Regions from separate parts of the Homo sapiens genome. Here region 2 is linked to region 1. The links are contacts of gene promoters, found by promoter capture Hi-C in human tissues and cell types (Jung and others, 2019). All regions are on one chromosome and are shown on one strand. Each heading gives the region's core, a stretch centred on a gene start or on the middle of the fragment in contact. The rest is flanking DNA. Distances are from core to core; before and after follow the strand shown.

Region 1 (4,820 bases), core at 879-3,378:
TGAGGCTGCCCGAGTCATCCAGACGGCCTTCCGAAAGTACAAGGTCAGGGGCAGGGGTCTCAGGATGAATTACACAATCTCCAGTCAGGGGAGACTGGGCTCCCAGGGCTTTTGGAGGATGAGTAGTCGTGCAGACAGGCCTTGGATGGGGTAAAGGGTCAGGGGAACCCCAGGAAAGTTGAAGGGACAAGTCAGATATGCCATTATGTGGGTCATGAGGTGGTGAGACTTCTCTCCCTTCAGGGCCGGCGGCTGAAGGAGCAGCAGGAGGTAGCAGCAGCTGTAATCCAGCGCTGTTACCGGAAGTACAAGCAGGTGAGACCCTTCTCCCTCAAAAGTGTAACCAGCAACCCACCAACCCACACCCACGCCTAACCATTCCAGAATGTTGCCAGAGCCCTAACTCCCCTTCTCTCTCCACAAGCTGACCTGGATTGCACTTAAGGTATTAGGCATGAGCTCTGAGTGTGAGGTCTGTGATGATTCAGTCTTTCCTTGAGTGTGTGGGTTACAGAGAGTCTTGCATCAGCCTAACTTGGGTGAGCCTCAGGGCTTTGGGTCTCCGTCCCTCTATTTCAGCCCCTGTCCCTCCTCCCCACCCCTGCAGTTTGCACTCTATAAGAAGATGACCCAGGCGGCCATCCTGATCCAGAGCAAGTTCCGAAGCTACTATGAACAGAAGCGATTTCAGCAGAGCCGCCGAGCGGCTGTGCTCATCCAGCAGCACTACCGCTCCTACCGCCGCAGGCCCGGCCCTCCCCACCGGACTTCGGCCACCCTGCCTGCCCGCAACAAGTAGGGCCCAGCCCCAGCCCTCTGTGCCCACCCACTGCATCCACGCCATTCCCCCTTACTCATCCTCTTGATCATCATGCCTCACTGCCATTCCCTGCCTAGGGTTCCTGGGGGGGCCGAAGGCATGCGATGCCTTCTGTGAGGTCCATCTTTTGTTTCTTTCACCAGAGGCTCCTTTCTCACCAAGAAGCAGGACCAGGCAGCCCGGAAGATCATGAGATTCCTGCGGCGCTGCCGACACAGGTACTCATCCCTTCTCCCCCTGGGCTTTTGCGTTGCCACCCGTCGTGATCCGCCAGTCTCCTCTGACTCCTATCTTTCTCTCTGCAGGATGAGGGAACTGAAGCAGAACCAGGAGCTGGAAGGGCTTCCCCAGCCGGGACTGGCCACATGACCTGGCCACCGCCTTTCTCACCACCCTGGGGGCGCCTCGTGCAGTCTTAACAGGGAGAGGGCTTTCTGGGGCAGGGGGAGCCCCTGTCGGCAGCTTTCCTGTTCACCTTTGTTGGAGCCCTCTGTAGGCCTCCTCCCTCCTCCCCACGCCTTGCTCCCACACCCCTCTCCTCGTCCCTCCTGGTCGTGCCCCGTCTCTTTTGGTCCTGGCTCCAGAAAACCCGCGCCCCACATACCTGCATCTTCCGCTGTGACCTCCGGAGCCCTGCCTGCCCCTGCTCCCCAGCTCCTCCTGCCTGCACCCGACTCGGCCCCCTCCTGACTTGCCTTATTTATTTGTTCGACGCGTCTCTGAATGTATCCGCCTCGGTTCCCACCACTGCCTTCGCTGCGCACGCCCCTCGTGTTTCAGGGCTGACCGTGTCCCCACCCGACTCCGCATGTTTGCGTCTGTTTCCTCCCTCTCTGGCCCTGTCTTACCCCATCACCCGACTCTGGCCACTGACCTCAGGGCCGAAGGGGAGGTGGTGTACATAGGAACGCGTTGCGGAGTCCGCCCCGTCCCCCGAGGGGAGGGGTCTTGTACATACTGTAACATACAGAGTATAGTGAAGAATCTATTTAAGGCGCCGCGGGGAGGGCTGCACGGCCGGGCTTGTGGTTCTCTAGCGCGGCGGGGGCCTCCTGCCGGCTCCACGGGCACTTTCTACTTGTGCATGGGCTTGGTTTATACGAATTGCCATTAAACATCGCTGCACCAGCCAGCCTCCGGCCTCTGTCTGCGGGGGCGGGGCGGGGCCTAGGCCAGCTGGAGGCCGCCATGCACCGCGGGCCTGGGATCTGCGCCCAGGCCAGGCGGGCCCAGGGTTTTCCGCCTCCGACGTGTTTCCGGCCTTAAAGGCATTCCGCCCTTCCCTTTAAGACGCACCGCCCCCTCTCAGTCACTCCCAAGATGGCGGACCTACTGGGCTCCATCCTGAGCTCCATGGAGAAGCCACCCAGCCTCGGTGACCAGGAGACTCGGCGCAAGGCCCGAGGTGAGGATCCCAAATTCACAACCGCCTTCCTTCGCCCGGTTCTCGGGACCATACTTCTCCCTCTTTGGACGATGCCGCCTCCTCAACCTTGAAAGACCCCTCACAGGCCCCTTCCGAGACCCTCAGAGTCCCTAAAAGGGCTGCTGACACGCCCGCTGTTCTTAGCGGACAGTGATTGGCTACCTGAAAGATAGCGCCAGCCTCCTGCCTCTTCTCCCGACCCTGGCCTTCCGCAGTCCTTGTTTCCCATTAGCCGGCCGTCCCGCCTGTCCGCTGCTGACCTGGTCTGATTGGTAGGGTGCCTCCAACCTGCCGCATTCCTGCCCCGCTCACCTCTAGCTCTATTTCGATTGGATTTAGGACACGCCATCTACTGTGCCTTCATCTCTATTGGCTATCTCAACTTAAAGCTCTGCCTCCTCAGGCCTGTTCGACCTTCCTTCGAAACCACCCCAGCCTGCGAATTCCCATTGGTTGCAGGGTCCTCTGTGTGTTCTTGCCCCTCCTGCTTAATTTAACCCAGTCCCTTCTGCCTCCCTCCGACAACCTTTTTCCCATCCGTAGCCTTAAATTCCCGAGCTGCCCGGGCGGATCGTAGTGTTGATTGGAGGGATGAGAATACCCGCCGGGTCCGATTGGCCACTGTCTCCGCCTGCGTTCTCGGAGTAGCTTCCCTGCGGGTGGGCTGGAGTTCGGCGGCCGGCGTAGGGCGCGGCCCTGCAGGGCGGTGGGAGCCTCCCCGGGGCTGCTCGTGTTGCAGCTTGGGATGATACTGGCGGAACGCAGGACCCCAACTCCCAAACCTGCGGACCTTGACCACGGACGAGCCCTGTCCCAGCTCCCCACGTGCCCCAGGGGGACCAGAGCAGGCAGGACGCCTTCCAAGTATTCAAGGGCCGCTGGTTGCCTACGCTTCGTCCCCTTGTTTCTTGAACAACCGTTAGGGACCAGGGGTACCCCTCAGGGAGGCCACAGTCCGGGGCTGGGGCGCTCATTGATGCAGTGATCACACGTAAGTTTAATAACCAACTTGATAAGTGCTCTGAGAGAAAAATAACTGTGAGAGCGGCCACCTGAGGTTCTCCCCCAATCTGCAGTGAGCCGAGATCAGAACAGGTAATTCCGTAAATGAGAGAGAGAAGCAAAGCGTTACAGGCAGAAGAGTCTATTTGAAATCTCTGAGAAAGGAGGAAGCATGATGGGAATGGGGAACTGGAATTCTCTAATGCTCCGATGACTGTCTAAGTGGGGGATCACCCGGCATTGACAGACTGGGAAGCTTAAATGAGTCACTCGCCTGAGGTCACATGGTTAGTTTGGTAAGTGGCAGGGTTTCAAACCCAGGTATGACTGGGCTCGAAGCCTATGTTCTTGACCATAATCTTGTGCCACTTCTCTAGATGCAGAGAAGACTCGAAAACCAGTTAAAGAACAGTCAGTGGGGCCCGGCCTTGTAGCTCACACCTTTAATACCACCACTTTGGGAGGCCGCGGCGGACGGATCGCTTGAGCCCAGGAGTTCAAGACCAGTCTGGGCAACATGGAGAAACCCCATCTCTACAAAAAATACAAAAATTGGCCGGGCTCACGCCTGTAATCCCAAAACTTTGGGAGGCCAAGGCGGGCAGATCACGAGATCAAGAGATCGAGAGCATCCTGGCCAACATGGTGAAACCCCGTCTCTACTAAAAATACGAAAATTAGCTGGGCGTGGTGGCGCGTGCCTGTAGTCCCAGCTACTCAGGAGGCTGGGGCAGGAGAATCAGTTGAACCCAGGAGGAGGAGGTTGCAGTGAGCCGAGATTGCGCCACTGTACTCCAGCCTGGCGACAGAGCGAGACTCCGTCTCATAAATAAATAAATAAATAGATAAATAAATAAATAAATAAATAAACATTAGCTGGGCTTGGTGGCGCGCTCCTATGGTCCCAATTCTCGGGAGGCTGAGGTGGGAGAATCGCTTGAGTCTGGGAGGTTGAAGCTGCAGTGAGAGGTGATTGCGCCACTGCACTCCATTTTGGGCGATGAAGTTGAGACTGTTTCCAACAACAAAAGATGAAATGCGCTGATGGTCAGTGAGGACAGAGGGATGAGAGCTCATAAGCTGTCAGGCCCTGGGGCTCCAGAGGATAACTGAACAGTAGATCAACAGGGTCCCTGCCCTCCAGGAGCTCATACTATGCTGAAGGAGACAAAAAAAAAAGAAGTTATGATACGTTAGTTCTCTGTCTATGCTGCTGGGTGTCTCAGCCAAAGGAGCTTGGAGCCCAGGGGAAGAAGTAACTGACTCACGGTAGATCTCAATGTTTGCAAGAGGAGGAAAAGCATTCCAAGCAGAGGAACAACGTGTGCAAAGGCATGGAGTTATTTGAAAAATGGGGAGAGGGCTCATGCCTATAATCCCAGCACTTTGGGAGGCTGAGGCGGGCAGATCACTTGAGGTCAGGAGTTCAAAACCAGGCTGGCCAACATGGCGAAACATCGTCTCTACGAAAAATACAAAAAAATGGGCGGGCGTGGTGGCTCACGCCTGTAATCCCAACACTTTGGGAGGCTGAGGCGGGCGGATCACCTGACGTCGGGAGTTCGAGACCAG
Region 2 (4,905 bases), core at 289-2,788, 260 kb after region 1:
CATTAGCAAAAAGCTGGAGCAGCCTTTAAGCATTAATTCAGCAATAGAATTATTAAATCATGGTGCACCCATTTCATTCATACCACAGTTTAAAAAACAGCATAAAGAAGGCCATGAGTGAAAACAAGCCACACGCAGACCCCAATCTTGTAAAATATTCATTTATGTGCTTGTGCATAGACTAATATTAGGAAAGTATACACGCTACTGGGGCAGGGCTTTGCGGGGGAGGAGCAGTTTTTCTTTTTACTTTATGCCTTTCTGTACTGTTTGAATTGGCTTTTGCAAGGCGCACGTCTTGTATCATTTCTGAAGTTGCAAATGTAGTTAAAAATGTCTGTGATTTCAAGTTACCTAGAGAGTTATTGATTCCTTCTCTTTCCCTGCCGCTGCCGAGTTGCGCGGAGGCGGAGGCTTGGGTACCTTCAAGATTCAGCTTCACTTGTAACCCACCGCCACGGCCGAGGAAGGCATTGCTGCTGGAGGGGTAATGGATGTTAATACTGCTTCACAAGAGGTGCTGAAGACCGCTCTCATCCACCATGACCTAGCACGTGGAATTCGCGAAGCTGCCAAAGCCTTAGACAAACGCCAAGCCCATCTTTGTGTGCTTGCATCCAACTATGATGAGCCTACTATGTATGTCAAGTTGGTGGAGGCCTTTGTGCTGAACACCAAATCAACCTAATTAAGGTTGATGACAACAAGAAACTAGGAGAATGGGTAGGGCTCTGTAAAAATCGACAGAGAGGGGAAACCCCGTAAAGTGGTTGGTTGCAGTTGTGTAGTAGTTAAGGACTATGGCAAGGAGTCTCAGGCCAAGGATGACATCGAAGAGTACTTGAAATGCAAGAAATGAAGAAATAAATCTTTGGCGCGCGTACACACACACACACGTTACTGATTCCTAGGCAGGGTGCGGTGGCTCATGCCTGTAATCTCAGCACTTTGGGAGGCCAAGGCGGGCGGAACACCTGAGGTCAGGAGTTCAAGACCATCCTGGCCAACATGGTGAAACCCCATCTCTACAAAAATACAAAAAAAATTAGCCGGGCGTGGTGGCGCGCGACTGTAATCCCATCTACTCGGGAGGCTGAGGCAGGGAAATCGCTTGAACCTGGAAGGTGGAGGTTGCGGTGAGCCGAGATCGCGCCACTGCACTCCAGCCTGGGCCACAGAGCGAGACTCCGTCTCAAAAAAAAAAAATGAGAGTTATTGATTCCTACAGCGAAGATGTCCCAAGACTCCGTCCGCTAAATGGAAATCGTTCCGACTTTGGCGCCTTTTGTCCGGACCACGTGTACCTTTAACATCACAGGACCGCCTCGGACACGCTCACAGGCAGCCTCATCCGCCATCACTCCGGGAACCGAGCACCCCGCTGCCTCGGCGCCCAGGCTGCTCTCTCCGCGCATGCTCCTTCCCAGCTTGAGCCCGCGAGTCCAGCCTGCCTTCACTCAGTGCGCAAGACCGCAGCCCCCTCCCCACGCCCCCTCCCCAGTAGGCGGCCGTCGCGGTGTGTTTGCGTCATCGCGCCACGCCACCACTGGAACCCGGGGGAAGATGGCGGCAGCCGTTCTGAGTGGGCCCTCTGCGGGCTCCGCGGCTGGGGTTCCTGGCGGGACCGGGGGTCTCTCGGCAGTGAGCTCGGGCCCGCGGCTCCGCCTGCTGCTGCTGGAGAGTGTTTCTGGTTTGCTGCAACCTCGAACGGGGTCTGCCGTTGCTCCGGTGCATCCCCCAAACCGCTCGGCCCCACATTTGCCCGGGCTCATGTGCCTATTGCGGCTGCATGGGTCGGTGGGCGGGGCCCAGGTGAGTCCGTGGCCCGCGTGCCCGCGGCCCTGTGGGGAGGATGGCGCGGCACCTGTGCGCCGGGATTACGGTGCAGTGCAAGTGCGATAGGGAGGTTGAAGGAAGGAGAGCTGCGGGCAGAAAGGGGATCCAGGTATCAGTCCGGACGGGATGCACGTATTTCTCCTTTATCGGCCATGAGTTTCTCCAGGGGAAAAATGGGCCTTATTTTTCTGTTGTTAGGCTATTGGTCGGCACACAGGAATCGATTAGGTTCCAGGCCCGGTCACTCACTAGTTGTATAATCTAAAAGTCTCTTTTTCCTCTGGCAATATCTGTTTCGGGGATTGTTTCGACTGACTGAATGACGCATTCAACAATAAACATTTACCGAGCTCTTATTGAGGGTCAGATACTGTACTAGGCGCTCCGGTTACAGACGTGGTGGCGATACACAAAATGCTGCGAAACAAGATGAGAATTGAATATCAGGGGTCTCTAACCTTATCTGAAGACTGGCAGAGATTTTTCCAAAGAAACCGGCGTTTAAGCTGAGACCCTAAGGATGAATAGGGGTTGGGTAGGGAAAAAATATGGGAGGGGCTGTTCAGTCAGAGGAGAGCTCATGTGGGAAGACCCTGTGGTAGGAAGGAACTGGAAAGAAGGGCATCGTTCCTGGGGCTCAGATGTGGAGGGGAAGAGAGTGGGTACAGATGAGACTGGTGAGATGGGTAGGCAGTGGTCGGGTCATGCAGAGCGTTTTAGGCCGGGTTAGGAGCCTTTGGACTTCTATAAGAATGGAATCTGATAACCATTCAGTTCTGCAAGCTAGACACTCAAGTAATTCTAAACTCTTCTTCATACACCTCCATAAGCAATCTGTCAAGTCCTGTTGATTTTATCCTTTGAGTAGTTTTCAGATCTGTCCACTCTTTTCCATCTTTCTCATTGCTCCCATTCTAGCTTGAACCCCCACCATCTTGTCCGGGTGAAGGCACTGATTCTAAGAAGGCATATTTCTAGCCCATAATAGCTGCTCCTTATAACAATCTCCTATCTTCCCTTCTCTCCCACTAAACCTCCCCCAAATTCTACCCATCCTTCAAGACCCATAAACACGAGATCTTCTGTGTCCACCCTTCATTCCTGGGACCTTCCTAGCTCTATGCTACCTTCCAGGAAGATGGTTGTCACAATTTGCTGGGTGGGTCAATAACCTTAGCCCCAGATTTATCACAGATAACCCTATCTGTTTGTCTTTAACATTACTCTGCATAATTGAGGGTGACAAAACTATATCTCTGCTATCTCAGCCCAATATCAGAGGCTGGAGCTGATTATGTATTTTCTCTTGTCTCTAAATTCCCCTCTTCTAATTTATGTGGTTTTCATCAGTCAGTTATATTACAGTGGGGTTTTTCTGTTTTCTTTATCTCACAATAGTCCCAGAATTATTATTATTTTTGAGACAAGGTCTTACTCTGTCACCCAGGTTGGAGTGCAGTGGCATGATCTTGGCTCACTGCAACCTCCATTTCCCAGCCTCAAGGGATCCTCCCACCTCAGCCTCCAGAGTAGCTGGGACCACAGGCATGCGCCACCATGCCCGGCTAATTTTTGTATTTTTGGTAGAGACGGGGTTTTGCCATGTTGCCCAGGCTGGTCTCAAAGTCCCGAGTTCAGGCGATTCACTTGCCTTGGCTTCCCAAAGTGCTGGAATTACAGGCACGGGCCACCATGCCTTGCCCCCCAGAAATTTTTTTTATAAGTATTTGTGAAATATTACCTATCCCGCCTATAAATGTGTGATTTCTTTCATCATCTCTTTCAGGACTTCCTCTCCTCCCTCAAAGTCAACTACATGAACTTAACGTCTTGCTTATTTTTCTTACATGTCTGAAGTCTAGTAGAATTTTGAGTAAAGAAGCTAAGAGTGATGTGGGAAACTAGGGCCGCCCTTTAATATTTCCTGTGCTACTTGTTTAGATACATCCTGCCTTGAATTTTTTTTCTACTTGTGTCCTTTGAATTGGGATTATGTGGAGGATTTCCTTTCCTTCCCCAAAGGTTTCATTCAACAAACATTTATTGAGTATCTGTTATGTTTTACGTACTGTTCCTCGTCTCTAGGTAGATAAATAAGACATGGTCCTTTCCCTCAGAGAATTTCTAGTCTAGTTAAGATGAGAAATGAAAGTCAGCAATAGACCTGGAGCTTGCGAGCAAGGGGGATCCACTGTTTGATCATCCACCTACCAACATGGCTTTTCCGCAGGTACTGCAAGCTCAGTAGTTCCAAAATGGAATGATCCTAGCACAGTGCTCCATATCTAGCTTGGAGTATATTATAGCAACAATCTTCTAACGGGTCTCCTTACCTTCAGTCTTGCCCTCTGTAATCCGTTCCCCACACAGTAGCTGGAGTGAGCTTTCTAAAGTAAAATTCTGATCCTGTTTGCAGCTTTTAAAAATCCTTCAGCCTCTGGGTGTTCTTTCCTCAGAGGCTTTGTACTTACTCTTCTCTTGGAATCCCTCCCTGTGCAGTGCCCCCACCCCCCCAACTCTCATCCTCCTTCCCAGTCTTCTCAATTCTTTGCTTATTTGTCACTGCCTTTGGGATATATTTCTTGGCCACCTATGATTGACTGCTCTTTATCCTACTGTCTGTTTATTTATTTCACATATACTTATAACCTCTCTCCCCTACATTCAGCAAGTCTTTGATTTGTTCTTGTATGTAATTAATAAAACTTATATAAAATTTCAGACATAAATAGTATTTTCCCCACCCCACCCTATGCTGCCCCCATCACTCAAATTTAACAGTGAACGTTTGCCAATGTTATTTCATTCCTCCCATAGCTTGGCTTTTTTTTTTTTTTTTTTTTTTTAGTGGAACTTTGCTTTTTCTTTCTTTCTCTTTTTCTTTTCTTTTCTTTTCTTTTTTTTTTTTTTGAGATAGGGCCTTACTCTAACTCAGGCTGGAGTGCAGTGGCCAGATTATGGCTCACTGCGGCCTTGGCCTCAACCTCCCAGGTTCAAGTAATCCTTCCACCTCAGCCTCCCGAGTAGCTGGGACTACAGGTGTGCCACCACCCCTGGCTAATTTAAAAA

What was found. Contacts are between HindIII fragments. The study calls those that stand out against the background at their distance.
Region 2: a contact is called between the fragment with the promoter of PELP1 here and the fragment with the promoter of SPAG7 in region 1, in 2 of the 25 tissues and cell types used here (dorsolateral prefrontal cortex and liver).

What each region holds. Positions count from the first base shown.
Region 1 is chr17:4,965,125-4,969,944 of GRCh38, reverse strand. SPAG7 (sperm associated antigen 7) reads left to right here and starts at 2,128. Exons shown (of 7, transcript NM_004890.3): 1 at 2,128-2,225. The coding sequence starts at 2,141. It overlaps CAMTA2 (calmodulin binding transcription activator 2), which reads left to right. Exons shown (of 23, transcript NM_015099.4): 18 at 1-43; 19 at 244-315; 20 at 425-445; 21 at 608-795; 22 at 964-1,038; 23 at 1,126-1,948. The coding sequence ends at 1,189. It overlaps LOC124900387 (a long non-coding RNA gene), which reads left to right and starts at 2,232. Exons shown (of 2, transcript XR_007065587.1): 1 at 2,232-3,544; 2 at 3,626-4,123. MIR6864 (microRNA 6864) reads left to right here and starts at 174; the gene lies at 174-243. RefSeq lists enhancers at 374-1,050, 1-1,083, 1,051-1,728, 1,729-2,405, 1,993-2,492 and 2 more and a silencer at 1,903-1,982. The HindIII fragment of the contact is 4,607 bases long and covers 108-4,714 here.
Region 2 is chr17:4,700,770-4,705,674 of GRCh38, reverse strand. PELP1 (proline, glutamate and leucine rich protein 1) reads left to right here and starts at 1,538. Exons shown (of 17, transcript NM_014389.3): 1 at 1,538-1,812. The coding sequence starts at 1,564. It overlaps PELP1-DT (PELP1 divergent transcript), which reads right to left and starts at 1,445. Exons shown (of 2, transcript NR_103482.1): 1 at 1,305-1,445; 2 at 146-476. It also overlaps the pseudogene RPS12P29. The HindIII fragment of the contact is 43,472 bases long and covers 1-4,905 here.